2 separate regions of the Homo sapiens genome follow, and region 2 is linked to region 1. Evidence: promoter capture Hi-C in 16 types of primary human blood cells and fetal thymus (Javierre and others, 2016). All regions are on one chromosome and are shown on one strand. Each heading gives the region's core, a stretch centred on a gene start or on the middle of the fragment in contact. The rest is flanking DNA. Distances are from core to core; before and after follow the strand shown.

What was found. Contacts are between HindIII fragments. The CHiCAGO score rates a contact against its expected background, and 5 or more counts as called.
Region 2: a contact is called between a fragment that was not itself captured here and the fragment with the promoter of CWF19L2 in region 1, in 5 of 17 cell types (activated CD4 T cells, total CD4 T cells, naive B cells and 2 more). The highest score is 7.3, in activated CD4 T cells.

What each region holds. Positions count from the first base shown.
Region 1 is chr11:107,456,254-107,459,591 of GRCh38, reverse strand. CWF19L2 (CWF19 like cell cycle control factor 2) reads left to right here and starts at 1,767. Exons shown (of 18, transcript NM_152434.3): 1 at 1,767-1,880. The coding sequence starts at 1,776. RefSeq lists an enhancer at 1,483-1,988. The HindIII fragment of the contact is 1,493 bases long and covers 999-2,491 here.
Region 2 is chr11:103,110,077-103,113,244 of GRCh38, reverse strand. All of the region lies in intron 1 of DYNC2H1 (dynein cytoplasmic 2 heavy chain 1), which reads right to left. Among named protein-coding and RNA genes, the nearest start is that of DYNC2H1, 2.2 kb to the right of the region's middle. The HindIII fragment of the contact is 2,788 bases long and covers 500-3,168 here.

The sequences.
Region 1 (3,338 bases), core at 518-3,017:
TCTTTTCTTTTCTTTTCTTTTTTCTATTTTAACATATCTAGTTCCCCTCTCTAACCCCAACTTTTTTTTGGGCAGTTTTATTTGTATTGCATGGTATTTACAAATTAATTGAGAAATGATTTTTTATGATGTTTTCTTCTTTAAGCACATAGTATACCTCTCCATTCGTTCTAGTCTTTTTGGGGAGCTTATGCAAGATTTTAAAGTTTTCTTCATATAACTTTGCACATTGCTCTAGACCGAATGTTTGTTTCCCCAAAATTCTTATGTTGAAATCTAATCCCCAATGTGCTGGTATATGGAGGTAGGGACTCTGGGAGGTGATTAGGTCATGAGAGCAGCACCCTCATGAATTCCTATAAAAGAAGTTCTAGAGAGATCCCTCTCCCTTTCCGCCATATGAGACACAGCAAAAATACTGCCCTCTAGGAACCAGGACACACCTTCACTAGACAGCAAATAGCCCAACACCTTGATTTTATCCAGCCTCCAGAACTGTAAGACATACTTGTTTGTTATTTATAAGCCATCCATTCTATAATATTTTGTTATAGCAGCCTGAACTGATTAAAACACACACGTTTCTAATATAATCACAGTTTATTTTTATTGAATTGATGCAAAACAGTGAAATGGATGTTTTTCTGAATTCCAAGAGAATCTGAAAAGACGTTGATGCTAGTTATGACAAATATCAGTCAATGTAGTCAGTTGATTAAATATTACAAGGTCGATTAGTAAATTACATTTTAAAATAAAATGAATACTTTCTATTGCATATCAAACAAGTAGGCATTGTGTGTTCAAGATTCAGACTCATAGAATGGTAGTGAATGTAAAAACTCTTGGAAAGCTTCTTGCAAACACACATTAAATTTTATGAAACCTGAAGAGAAAGAGTATTTACCTCAACCTGGCTTATGTTACTTATTTTTAGCGTCTTTAAGGTATCGTTTATAATTAATTCCCCAGCCTTCTTCTTCTTGTAAATGTAAGCTTAGTGTCTTATGTTCTCAAAGCACTTCATCACCTTAGAATGTCTTATTCTTCTGAACTTAAAAGTTTTATGTTTGGGCGATACATGCGTAAAACAAAACAAAGAAATCTCCGCAGAAATAAATAAGTAACTGTCCATTGTAATGAAAAATGCTTGGATGGATAAGTATGAGTAAATAATATGGGGTCAGAGGAAAAAATATAATGTAAACTTCTAACAAGTTAAGCACGGGTAAATTGTGAAGTGCAATGCAAAATTCACATGAGTGTTTCATATATTAAGTAAAATCCACCAAAACAAAACACTGAATCTTCAAGGCAATTCTGTCCTTCCTGCCAGCTGCCACTACCTTTCTGGCAGCCTCCCTTTATCCCATTCCTCCAGCACAGGGAAATGATGCTCTGGCGACAAAGGGTACTTCCGCAGAAAACTTTTGAGAGGTACCAACTTAACTTCCAAGAGCTTGTAACTTACTCCGGTGATTTTAAGACGAAATTGGTGAGAAAGCTGTTAATATAGTAAAAAGTGCATAATAAATATATACGGGTATTAATCCTGCTCACAATCGCACCCAACACCTGAAAGAATTAAACCCTCCAACACCCTTCGGGTCTTTAAAATCTGGGCTGCGGTAATCCGAGCCCTAAGCGACCTCAGATGTGCGCATGCCCTGTTGGTGGAGCCGTGCTCCTCCTTCCTCGGGTCCGGAAGTCCCGGTTTGTTTGTTAAATTACGACCGTCGTAAACTAGAATTTTCTTGCGGCTTCTTAGCTTTACGATGGCAACAAGTATGGCGGCTGCTAGTGGTAGATTTGAAAGTGCGAAGAGTATCGAAGAGCGGAAAGAACAGACCCGGAATGCCAGGGCCGAGGTGTTGCGCCAGGTACCTCTGTTTTGGGGCTTTTGTAGTTATTTATTGTTGTGGGAGTTGAGGGTTCCCGTAAGCTAGCCCACTCACCCCTTCCCTTACCTCGTCAGTACTGAATCTCACCTTAATTTGGGTGAGTTCTCCCTTTGCAATGCCGGTAAACCCTTTTGTAGCTACCGATTTTTTAGATGTTCTGGCAGGTGCCAGTTGCTAATTCTCTTTTCAGGCAGATCTGTCGCTTTTTCTCCAAGTTTCTTTACCTTTTAAGTTACCCATTCTTTACATTTCTATCACTCGGACTGCACACTTTGTAGGTCCCCTGCGGCTTGTAAGGACTCTGCCAGCATGTCTCGCAGCCTCAGTCATTGCTACTGCTGTATCTGAAATGAGATTTTCCTTTTTCGGAAACACATTCAAGTCACACTTGAATAGACTCAGTTTGACATTTCCTCCTCCTGTCTCTATTGGTATCAATTCCAGACTTACTGTAAGCTCTTACCAATCCAAACAAAAGTTAACACCAATCTCAGTATATTTAGCCTGTCACAAAAGATCGCGAAACATTGTATTTCTCACTAAACTTCAGATACATAGAGGTAACATACAAAGAATGGAGAAAGTAAGCTTCTGAATTATCTGACAATCTATTCAATATGTAAGAAGTGTGGCAATGAAAGAGAAAAGTTGCAGTTGGAGAGCAACAGAGAATTCAGTGAGGGTTTTTGTTTTTATTTAAGTTGGAAGAGTTTTAAACAAGTTTAAATGCAAATGAGAAGGAGCCAGCAGAGAAGAGGGAGAGGAGACTCTAAAGGGAAAATGACATAGTTTCAAAATTTGGCAAATAATTTGAGGGTGAAGCAGCCCCATTCTCCTTTAATCTCCAATTTTCTCACCCTGTTCTTTGGAGTCCATCATAAGCCCTGCTCTTTTCTCTGATATCGATTTTTCTGTTTGGTATATAACCATTGTATTCATCTTCTTGCCTACACCAAGAATTATTATATGCACCCAGGGAAAAGCTAGCTGCAGAATGTTGGACTACCTCTCCATGATTTTCCCTTTTCTGGAATATTAACTCTTCTAGTTCTTGTTGCTTCAGCAGTTCTCTGATATAAACCTTTAATAAATTATTTTTATATTTGATTAAAAAAAAAAAGAAAATGACTACAGCCAGGTTTTAAAGGGGAAGAGTGGGCGATTAGTCTTGGGTAGGTGAAATGTTGGTATTGTTTCGTAATTTCAACATATGTAATGTGTGTGTGTGGGTATATATATATTATTCATTCTTTTCTCTTTGGTATTTCCAGCAGTTTTTGGAGGGAGTAAGTTTCGTAAGTTGAGATAAATCTTATAGTAGAGATATGCATAGAATTTGAAAAGGACCAAACTGAGCTTTGGAGTTACAGGGAAAGAAAGAGGGCAGGAACGATTTCCTAGGAAAAACTTGCTTTGTTTGACTATCATTGAAGAATG
Region 2 (3,168 bases), core at 644-3,143, 4.3 Mb after region 1:
GATTCCATTCCAGCCAGAGTCCATTCTAGCCAGAATCAGTAATAGTACAGATGAAAGCTGTAGGCTCCAGGTACACAATGAGTAGTGTGCTTCTCTAGTAACCCAGAAAGTCTATAACAAAATGTAATTAATTACCCTCTTACTTAGAAAAAGCATTTTAAAAGGTGCTTTTAAAATTATACATGCACTCAAAACTACCAAAATGAACTTAAGTTGTCTATCTCCTGAAATTAACTTTATCTTAACTGAAAATTTTTCCTTAAAGAGTTAAGAGCATAAAACTTTGTTAAATTGTCATATAGCTAGATTATTTTAAATCGGAACCAGATGAACTCAATTGGAATTCACTACAGCAATCTTGTTTAAAATAGGTCAGTTCATAGTAATGAGTTCATTAGCTGAGAACTATACTAGTCAAAGGAAGTTTTTGCATTATACACACATTCTCAGTTATTCTCATTTCTTTTTTCAGGAAAAGAAGTCTACACATTAAAAAGCTTTCAGACAAGGTCACTGCTGTGTAGGAAGAACAGCTATGGGTCTCATGCCACTTATTTCTATCCAAATAATTACATTTTTGGCCACTGGAAAGGAGCTGAAACTTTGTTACTGCTCAAATGCTTATAACATTTCATGACACATGAAAAGTATATGAAATCCACATGTCAGTGTCCATAAAGTTTTATTAGAACATAGCCATTCCCATTCAATTACATGTATTATTACAAAGTATTACATGTCTGCTTTCACACTACAAAGGCCAAGTTGTAGCTGCTAATGGAGCCCTTGTTGCCTGCAATATTATCTGACCCGTTACAGAAAACTTTTTGCCAACCTCTGTCCTAAAGCATAAACCAGATCACAGCTCTCTCTTGCTTAAGATTACCAATAACTTCCTATTTCAATTTAAATGGTATACAGTGTCCTAAATGATCAGCCTGTGCCTTATTCTCCTTTCTCATCTACCACAATGTTCCTTCATACCATAAACTCCAGCAATCACTCTGGATTTTTTTTCTTGCCCCTGGAAACTAAGTTAAAACCCAGCTCAGGGCCTTGGTACTTACAGTTTCTTTTGCTTAGAACACTCTTCCCCCAGGTTATGCCTGCCTGCAACTCATCATTCAAATCTCGCTTCAAAGATAACTAATCCAGAGAGGGATTATCTCCCACCCTATATATCTTTAGTTCCCCACGCTGCCCCATCACTACTATAACATTATTTTTATCTTAACGGCACTTATCAATACCCAAAATTATGTTACATATATCTGTAGCATGCGTTTAGCCTACCTTTGTCCATTCCAATGTTACTCCTTTAAGATACGGACTCTGTGTTCATGGCTTTGTCCCCAGTACTAGTAGGTAGGCAATAAATATTTGCTGACTTATTAACTTATTGAATCACGCTAACTATCAGGCAACTAAAGTACAACTGAAGACATAACAAAATATTTTCAAATATGACTAAAAACCTGTAGCGAAGTGTACAACTAAAAATAACAGATACATCGTTGGGCTTTACTAGTAATAGCTTTAACTTAAAAAAAAAAAGTTCTACCTTCAACTTTCAAATACCCAAGCCAAGATACACTTTCACGAATCCAAACCCCTTTCCATCTTTCCTACTGCATTCTATCCGAACTTTCAGTGGCATTTACAACAGTGTGTCCTGATTTTATCATTTGCTGAGTATATGTCATCCTAAGCCACTGGAGTGAGTCTAGGAAAGGCAGAAAGCAGGGGGCTCTATCCTGAACTACGCTACCTATTGGAGAAAAAGAAAAGTTAACATTTAGGTTGTAAATTTTGTCCCTTACTTTCCTCAGCCATAAAATAAGAAAAAGAATAGTTCCTATCTTACAATGTCGTTATGGCTATTAAATGAACGAATACATATAAAGTACTTAGAACAGTGCTTGACAGAGTCTAAAGTGAAAATAAATGTTAGCTATGATTATCCATCCTTTTTATATCTTTGTAAACCCATCATGCCTGGCAAAGTGCCTTGCATGTACTGAGTTCAAAGTAAATGTTTATTAAATACAATCGAATTAAACCTAAGAATAAAGATAGTGAATAGGGTGAATGATTCAATCATCCTATAAAAATGCACTGAAGCCAGGCACGGTGGCACACACCTGTAATCCCAGCACTTTGGGAGGCCAAGGCGGGTGGATCACCTGAGGTCAGGAGTTCGAGACCAGCCTGACCAACATGGTGAAACCCCATTTCTACTAATTGCAAAAAATTAGCTGGGTGTGGTGGCACATGCCCTGTAATCCCAGCTACTTGGGAGGCTGTGGCAGGAGAATCGCTTGAACCCGGGAGGCAGAGGTTGCAGTGAGCCAAGATTGTGCCATTGCACTCCAGCCTGGGTAATACGAGCGAAACTGCGAACTGCGTCTAAAAAAAAAAAAAAAGGCACTGAATGTTTTTGCTGAGTGTCAAAAACTCTGCTAGACCTAGGGATAAGGGTGAACACCAAAGGAAGAGGTTTAAAATATGTCTTTGTTTTATTAACTTAAATCTATTTACTGAGTCCCCTTTAATGTGTCAGGCAATTTTCTTCTGTGTTTTTCTTTTAGGCTTATATATATAAGCCCTGATTGCAAATGCAACCCATTTTTTAAGCAATCCTGCCAGTGGAGGGAGCAGTGCAATTAATAAATCAGTATATCACATGATGTACACCAAAAAAGAATTCAAACTTTATTTTGAAATATATCATTTCACAAAAATTTAAATTCCTAACTAATCTTTCCCTTGGGCAATGTTAAAATCAGAGCCTGATCCAAAAAAGATAGACTAGAATTTGCCTTCCCCCCAAAAAAAAAACTCAAAAAGGGGAGAGAAAAAAATAAAAATAACTAAGTAAATGTTTTCTTTTTAGTTATAACGTATCTGCAGTCTTTCTTAAAAAGTAGAATATAGGCCGGGCGCGGTGGCTCATGCTTGCAATCCCAGCACTTTGGGAGGCCGGATCACTTGAGGTCAGGAGATGGAGACCCACATGGCCAACGTGGTGAAACCCCCGTCTCTACTGAAAATACAAAAATTAGCCAGGCGTGGCGGCGCGCGCCTGCTACTCGGGAGGCTGAGGCACGAGAATCGCTTGAACTCAGGAGGTGGAGGACGCAGTGAGCAGAGATCGCGCCACTACACTCC